Linked DNA regions of Homo sapiens: region 2 is linked to region 1. The links are contacts of gene promoters, found by promoter capture Hi-C in blood cells and fetal thymus (Javierre and others, 2016). All regions are on one chromosome and are shown on one strand. Each heading gives the region's core, a stretch centred on a gene start or on the middle of the fragment in contact. The rest is flanking DNA. Distances are from core to core; before and after follow the strand shown. Region 1 holds the start of EIF2B4 (eukaryotic translation initiation factor 2B subunit delta). Region 2 overlaps GPN1 (GPN-loop GTPase 1).

Region 1 (4,093 bases), core at 415-2,914:
GAGGAAGGAGAATCGCTTGAACCCAGGAGGCAGAGGTTGCAGTGAGCCGAGATCGTGCCACTGCACTCCAGCCTGGGCAACAAGAGAGAAACTCCGTCCCAAAAAAAGATATCAGGTAACTTGTTCAGGGTTGCACAACTAATTATCAGTGGAGCTCTACTGAGTTAAATAGAGTTTAAGATCTGGTAAGGAAGGAGGAGAAACATTGCATCACAGATACATAACGATAATTGGCACAGCTAAACACACTGAAATGAGCCGAAGAACACAAAAGGAAATCGGTGAATCGTTTGTATAAGCAGGGAAAAGAATTTCAAGTTGCCGCTCAGATGACAGAAGGAATGTGCTTTGACAGCCTGGGTGGAGGTAGTGGGGGGAGGGGTTGGTTTGTCCATGCAGGGGTAAAGGCTACTAGAGCAGTAAGACTGGACAGAAAACCAGAATATAAGAACAGGAAGGAGCAGTTGTTGCGCGGACATTAAGCTTCTTAGGGAGTTCCCGGAAATGTCAGACAAGATAAACCAGGGCCCTACCCTGTGGCAGTGATTAAAGGGGAACTACAGCCTACGGGAACAAGAAGAGCGGGTAAAGGGAGACACTGATGTCCACGTGTAGGGAAGGGCTTGAAGCTGTCTCAAGGCAGGGGTGCTAGTCCCACCTGCTCGTGCAGCCCCAGGAGCTGGCTGTAGCGCACCCGACAGTGCAGGACTCCATTCACGTGAATGTTATAGGCCTGAGGACACAAAAGTAGTCAAGCATTTTAGGGTTGCGGTCTGCGCAACCCCCCTGAGAACCCTGGCCGGAAGTTGCCTGGCAACTCGCCGGAGTAACGCGCTAATCTCCCGAGGGATAGTTCGCTTGTTTTCGCCAGGGCCAAGTCCCAAAGCTGAAGAGCCAGTCCGGGGGAAATTCGGACGCTTGTGTTGCAGTCTCACTGCCCAAGAGGCCAGTGACGCCCACCAGGGCAGCTGCGGCCTAGCTCGGGGAAGCGACCCGGCCTAAGGGCCTACAGGAGCTCGGGCGACCACTGCACGAATCACACACATGAGATAAGCTCCCAGAGAGGCCGTCGGGAGTCGGCGGCCCAGGACCAGGCCCGAAGGGTGGCGGTCAGGCCTCAGAGGCCGCTCCGAGATGGCTCGGGCCCGTTATCCCCGCCCCTGCCCGGCCCGGCTCGGCTCCGGCCGCTCCTCACCACGTAGGCGGAGCCGCCGCTGTCCCCGCTGCGGGACTCGGTTTCGGGAATGGAAAAGTGCATGTTCCCTACGGCACGGCACGGCCGGGCTCCGGACTGTGAGGGCCGCAGCGGCTCTGCACGCTCCCCCTCCGCTGCTCAGCGAGTCCCCGCAGCCTCACTCGCCATTTTGGGAGCCCTGCGATCCGATGTGGGAAGGCGGTGGGACGTCGGTTCTGGGACGCAATCGCCTGGGCATGCTGGGAACTGTAGTCTAAAGGGCAAGAGCCACCTGTCCGGATAGGGAGCCCAAAGTGGAGTTGGCCCTCATTGCAACCCGTAGTGCGGGGCGGGGCCTCGGGGCCCGTCGGAAATTGTAGTCCGATTGGGGCTGCGCGCTTCGCTTCTGCGGCTCAGCCTCCAGCCCAGGTGGCGCTGTGGACCCTGCAGCCGCGGAGCGAGGCAGCGGGGCGGCTCCGTGACCACGGCGGGCGGAGCCTAGGACTGAGGGCGATGGCTGCTGTGGCCGTGGCTGTTCGCGAGGGTGAGTGAAGAGCCGGGCCTGCCTACTGGTACGCGGAGCCGACGAGCTCCGGACAGCTAGTGCCGGGCCTTGAGCGCCTTTGGGCCCCGCCGCTCCGTTCCAGCGCCACGCTGGGCTCCGGTCTACACAGTCTCGAGCGCAGTCCCGCGCCGCGCACCGGCTGGTTGCTGTGAGGAGGGTCGGTGACCCCTCCATTCCTTTGATCCGCCGCGCAGTGCGTCCCCACGCGGATCCCTGGCTCGCCTCGCGCCTGCCGGCGGATCCGTGGTCATGCCAACCCAGCAGCCGGCTGCGCCGAGTACTCGTGCCCCCAAACCCTCCCGGAGTCTCTCTGGCTCACTTTGTGCCCTGTTTTCTGATGCAGACTCGGGATCCGGGATGAAGGCGGAGCTTCCCCCTGGGCCTGGGGTAAGTGAGGCTTCCCTCCCAAGCCGCCTGCCAAGCGCTACGCAGGAGGCTGTGCCAGCTTTATTCCGCCCCAGCTCCCATCCCGTGTCGGTTTATTTCTCAGTAAAGCCAGGAGATTTTACAGAGGTCTTGCAACCCTAGGGATATATGATTCTGTCCCTGGAGGAGAAACGTCAGCCTCTGTGGATGTAAGCTTGCAACAGGTAGCTTGTGGAAGTTAGGAAGAACTAGGGATTTAACCATGTGGAAATCTTGTAAGCATCCAATAGTATTTGTTCCCCTTTGGAATTGTTGGGGAAGAGCAGTATCCTATGTCTGTGTCTCAGGCAGTGGGGAGGGAAATGACCAAAGAAGAAAAGCTGCAGCTTCGGAAGGAAAAGAAACAGCAGAAGAAGAAACGGAAGGAAGAAAAGGGGGCAGAACCAGAGACTGGCTCTGCTGTATCTGCAGCCCAATGTCAAGGTGAGTGAGGGGTCTCTTTTAAAGGGCTGGGGTGTGGAGCTGGTAGAGGGATGTGGTGGGAGAGATAAGGGAGAGACAGGACAAAGTTGATTTGAGCAAGTGTGTAAAGCAAAGAGGTTTACAAGGAGAGAAGCTAGTTTTAGCTGGGGCACGGATATCACCTGCCTGCAGCTTGGGCATTTTTTTTTTTAATGCTTTTAGTAGGCCCAACCAGAGAACTGCCAGAATCGGGCATTCAGTTGGGCACTCCTCGGGAGAAAGTTCCAGCTGGTCGGAGTAAGGCCGAACTTCGGGCTGAGCGTCGAGCCAAGCAGGAGGCCGAGCGGGCCCTGAAACAGGCAAGAAAAGGGGAACAAGGAGGACCACCTCCTAAGGCCAGCCCCAGCACAGCTGGAGAAACCCCCTCAGGTATCTTCCCTTCATTTTAAGACCTCCCTTACTCCTAATTATAACGCCAGCTCAGGCTGCCCAATAGTAAAACAGCTCTCCCCTCTCATTCTTGGGACCCAGAGTTCTGAATTGTTCCTGCAACCCCATTATCCTATCCCTATTTCCTTTTCTACCCTATTCTCCCGTTTTCTCCACCTCATCCTGTTTTTCTTGATGCCCCTTATACCCTAAGAGCAAATTACACATTTCAAGACCTACAGTGTCCTGAAAACATGATGATTATCTTTCAGGAGTGAAGCGTCTCCCTGAGTACCCTCAGGTTGATGACCTACTTCTGAGAAGGCTTGTTAAAAAACCAGAGCGTCAACAGGTAGGAAGTGGGTTTGGTGCCTGGCTAGAAAGAGCCTAGGGAAATGGACTGGAGGGAGGAAAGGTGCTGGGTGCAAAGTGAGAAGGATAGGTGCTTGGGTCAGAGTAGTCTTACTGTTCACTTCCTTTCCAGCTTTATCCCATCCTTTTTAAACTCTGGGCCATTGGTCCTGTTCCCTTGTTTTGTCAAGGTTCCTACACGAAAGGATTATGGATCCAAAGTCAGTCTCTTCTCTCACCTACCCCAGTACAGCAGACAAAACTCTCTGACCCAGTTTATGAGGTAGGATCCTATGAAATTGTCATAACTTTTGAGTCTGAGGAGTTTTAGTAAGTCAGTATTGAAAGTTTCTAGTAATCTGAGATGGACTCTGTAGGAAAAAGTATGAACCCAAGGCAGAACTGTAGAGGAGTGGGGAAATCTGCTAGTGAAGGGAGTTCCTTTTCATCAGGGGCAGGTGGGCAGTAGATGCTCAAGCTCCCTTTCAAAGTATGTGACACCGCCATCCCATCAGCATCCCATCCTCTGTGATCCACCCAGCCATGGTGCGACTCGGCCTGCAGTACTCCCAGGGCCTGGTCAGTGGCTCCAATGCCCGGTGTATTGCCCTGCTTCGTGCCTTGCAGCAGGTATGTCCCATCCTGTTCTCTCTTATGATCCAACCCCACCTCCCCCAATACTACCCCAGCTTCTGTCACCCAAGGTCATCTCTGGGGGACAGAGGGAATACTCCTACCCTCAGAAC
Region 2 (3,949 bases), core at 1,194-3,693, 260 kb before region 1:
AAATGATTAACACTATCAGGCAAATCAAATAATTTTCTTTTAAACAATTAATATGAAAATGGGCCAGGCACAGTGGCTCATGCCTGTATTCCCAGCACTTTGGGAGGCCAAGGCGGGCAGATCACTTGAGGTCAGGAGTTTGAGACCAGCCTGGCCAACAAGGTGAAACCCCGACTCTACTAAAAATACAAAATTAGCCAAGTGTGGTGACTACTCAGGAAGCTGAGGCAGGAGAATCACCTGAACCCAGTAGGCGGAAATTGCAGTACGGTGAGATTGTGCCACTGTACTCCAGCCTGGGTGACAGAGCAAGACTCCGTCTCGAAAAAATATAAATAAATAAATAAATAAATAATTAATATGAAAATGAAATAATGCTGTCAATCTTCAGATTTCTATTTGGATCACAATTTCTTGCATCCACCAAAAAGGGACATCCCTTGTCATATCAGAAAAGACAAATGTTGGTGATGGCATTTGTGTACCCTCAAAATTAAATTCTCTCAGCTTTAATAACTGTCAGCCTTGCTCCTCAGTCTTAATGCACTAATCTAGTGAGGCATGCCCTTCCTCTGCTAATGGTGCCACATTTGGGGCAAACCAGTGCATTTTATTTTTTTGAGACAGGGTCTCACTCTGTTGCCCAGCCTGGAGTACAGTGACATCATCACAGCTCACTCCAACCTTGGCCTCCCAGGCTCAAGCAATCCTTCCACCTCTGCCTCCCAGGTAGCGGGGATTACAGGCACACACCACCATCCCTGGCTAATTTTTTGTATATTTTGTAGAGATGGGGTTTCACCATGGTGCCCAGGCTGGTCTCAAACTCCTGGGCTCAGGCGATCCTCCCACCACAGCCTCCCCAAGTGCTGGGATTATAGGCATGAGCCACCATGCCTGGCCACCTGTGCATTTTACAATTATGGATAAATCTTCTTATTCATGGTATCTCCTCATGTTACAATTTCACTCTACCAGCATCATTTAGGCCAGAGGACTCTATTCTTCTCTCTCTCTCTCGTTGCCCCAGGCTCTTGTTGCCCCAAGCCGGAGTGCAGTGGCACAATCATGGCTCACTACAGCCTCAACCACCTGAGCTCAAGCAATCCTCCCACGTCAGCCTCCCAAGTAGCTGGGACTACAAGGGCGTGCCACCACGCTGGCTAATTTTAAAACATTTTTTGTAGAGACAGAGTCTTGCTATGTTCCCCAGCCTGGTTTCAAACTCCCAAGCTCAAACGATCCTCCCACCTTGGCCTCCCAAGTGTAGGGATGACAGACCCAGCCCAGAGGACTTTATCTTTAAACTTGGATTTTATCCAACTGGGAACAACTATCAGACAGTTCATATTCATACATCACCTTTTTGTAACAACAAGGGAGGAAGATCAGAGGGTATTGAGAGAGAATGCCAACAGCACATGTGCCTCTTTTCTCCTCTGACCTTCCCCAGCTCACAGCCACTCAACTGAACAGCAAATCTGAATGAGCACAAATCCAGGGGTAAGCAACCAGATTCAAAAAAAAAAAAAAAAGAGGAAGAAGAAGAGAAAAAGGCCTTATACCTTGATGGAACACTTTCCCCACCAACAATCAATTACCTGCAGGCATAGAGCATGTTGGACATGAAGGTCACTGGGTTGGTACTTCTCGATGTGTCCATTACATAGATGACAACTGTTGGAAATGAGGATGCCTAAAGCCACAAAAAAATCAAAGCCTTGGTCAGAGGGCTCACGATCTGTCCTCAAACTCTTTTTCCACCATCCTTAACAAGGGAAAACCACTTTAGGCAGGGTGTGCAGAGCTTCTACAACTTCCTCCCATATAAAGTCCAAGGCAATTAAAAATAAATGCTCATCCAGTCTAGCCCCTCTAGCTACTCTCAGTAGCAAGTCCTAGAATACTCACAAGGGCTTCAGTGATAATTGTCCCAGAAGCTGACCAGGTGAATACCTCAATCTGTCCAGGTGTGTCAATCAACACATATCTATGTCAAGAAAGATCATTAAAGAAGTGTTACATTTGTGTTATGCTGAAGGATATTCCATCATATAAGACAATAAACATCTGGTTATCCAAGACTGGAGTAACCTCTGCACACTGCCAAATCTAACTTCCTCCTACTGGCCCTAAACTGCACATGATGATCCCCTAGACTTTGTTCAATGACCAATATTCACGCCAATGGGCAGGAACAGCAGACCATGAGTTGCTGCAAATGATCACAGGGGAAACTTTTATAGAAACACAATGCATTTAAAATGAAAGACACAAAACCAGAATGTAAATCTCTTGGGAAACATCTGGTTGCTTAGGGCGGGGGTGAGTGTGGAACAGAGGAAGAAGAATGGGAGGAATGGGAAAGTGCTAGCTGAAGAATATCAGGTTACTTCTTGAGATGATGAAAATATTCTAAAATTGACTGTGGTGATAGTTGTACAATTCTGTGAATATACTAAAAGCCACTGAATTGTATACCTTAAATGGGTGAATTGTATGGTATGTGAATTATCTCAATAAAGCTGTTTTTATGAACTATATCAACTTTTTTGTGAATTAATTTGATATAATTATGAATTATATCAGAATTTTTTTAATTGGCAAAGAATTCTAATAGACATTTCTCTAAATATATACATACCAATGGCCAATAAGTACATTAAAAAGATGTTCAATATCATTAGTTATTAAGAAAATAAAAGTAAAAACCACAATGAGATACCACTCTATATCCACTAGAATGGCTATAATCAAAAACAAGAAGAATAACAAAAGTTGGCAAGGTTATGGAGGAACTGGTTGTGGAGAAATCATATTGCCAATGGGAATGGAAAATGGGGTAGTCACTAGGGGCTAAAGGGAACAGAAAATAAGGAGTGATTGGTAATGAGTATGGGGTTTCTTTTCAGGATGACAAAAATATTCTGAAGATAGTAATTATCAACACACGACTCTGTGGACAGACTAAAACAACCATACACTTTAAACGAGTGAACTTTATGGTATATGAATTATATCTTAATAAAGCTGTCATTAAAAAAAAAAAAATACCTCCAGGCCAGGCTCAGTGGCTCACACCTATAGTTCCAGCACTTTGGGAGGTTAAGCCGGGCAGATCACTTGAGGTTAGGAGTTTGAGACCAGTCTGGCCAACATGGTGAAACCCCATCTCTACTAAAAATACAAAAATTAGTCAGGCATGGTAGCAGGCCACCTGTAATCCCAGCTACTCAGGAGGCTGAGGCAGGAGAATCGCTTGAACCCGGGATGCAAAGATTGCAGTGAGCCAAGATCACACCACTGCACTCCAGCCTAGGCAATAGAGCGAGACTCCATCCCAAAAATACAAAAATACAAAAATTAGCCAGGTGTGGTGGCTCACACCTGTAGTCCCAGCTACTTGGGAGGCTGAGGTGGGAGGATCACCTGAGCCAGGGAGGTGGAAGTTACAGTGAGCTGAGATCACTACACTGTACTCCAGCCTGGGCGACAGAGCAAGACCCTGTCTCAAAACAAAACAAAAGCTACCTCTAGTACCCCATTTTTGTAAAAGCACTTTTATCCATTCATCCTTCTATCTGTGTATATAGAAATGTGGAATGCTAGTCGCTGAATGATGATGTTACTTCTAGTGGGAATCGGGGTGATGGTTTCATCTTATAAATATCATGCATGGTTTGAATTTTTATAAAACAATAAATTATCTTTTTTAAAAAAAGTAAACCTTGAACAACAGCTAACTGGGTAATGGCCATAAGAACAAATATTTCCTATTCTGACACTCTGTAAATTAAAAAATTTTCTCTGAACCATGTAGACTATATTCATTTAAATAAGAATTAGAAAGGTATTTCAGATACTTTAATGACAACAAGCATGGTTTCCCAAGAGAAGGCAGGTGGACAACTGAATTGGGACAAAGTCTCAAAAGAGCTCCTAAGAAGCC

Evidence for each region. The method cuts DNA at HindIII sites, captures the fragments that hold promoters and counts their contacts. A CHiCAGO score of 5 or more calls a contact.
Region 2: a fragment that was not itself captured here is called in contact with the fragment with the promoter of EIF2B4 in region 1 in 13 of 17 cell types (naive B cells, megakaryocytes, erythroblasts and 10 more); the score reaches 13.7 in naive B cells.

Annotation. Positions count from the first base shown.
Region 1 is chr2:27,367,909-27,372,001 of GRCh38, reverse strand. It overlaps EIF2B4 (eukaryotic translation initiation factor 2B subunit delta), which reads left to right and starts at 1,664. Exons shown (of 13, transcript NM_001034116.2): 1 at 1,664-1,718; 2 at 2,083-2,126; 3 at 2,453-2,588; 4 at 2,790-2,996; 5 at 3,269-3,348; 6 at 3,539-3,630; 7 at 3,863-3,977. The coding sequence starts at 1,688. SNX17 (sorting nexin 17) reads right to left here and starts at 1,386. Exons shown (of 15, transcript NM_014748.4): 1 at 1,196-1,386; 2 at 659-733. The coding sequence starts at 1,258. RefSeq lists enhancers at 1,004-1,093, 1,314-1,373, 495-1,456, 1,394-1,483, 1,704-1,983 and 1 more. The HindIII fragment of the contact is 1,836 bases long and covers 486-2,321 here.
Region 2 is chr2:27,632,887-27,636,835 of GRCh38, reverse strand. It overlaps GPN1 (GPN-loop GTPase 1), which reads right to left. Exons shown (of 14, transcript NM_007266.4): 6 at 1,912-1,990; 7 at 1,602-1,696. Among named protein-coding and RNA genes, the nearest start is that of GPN1, 5.8 kb to the right of the region's middle. The HindIII fragment of the contact is 9,452 bases long and covers 1-3,949 here.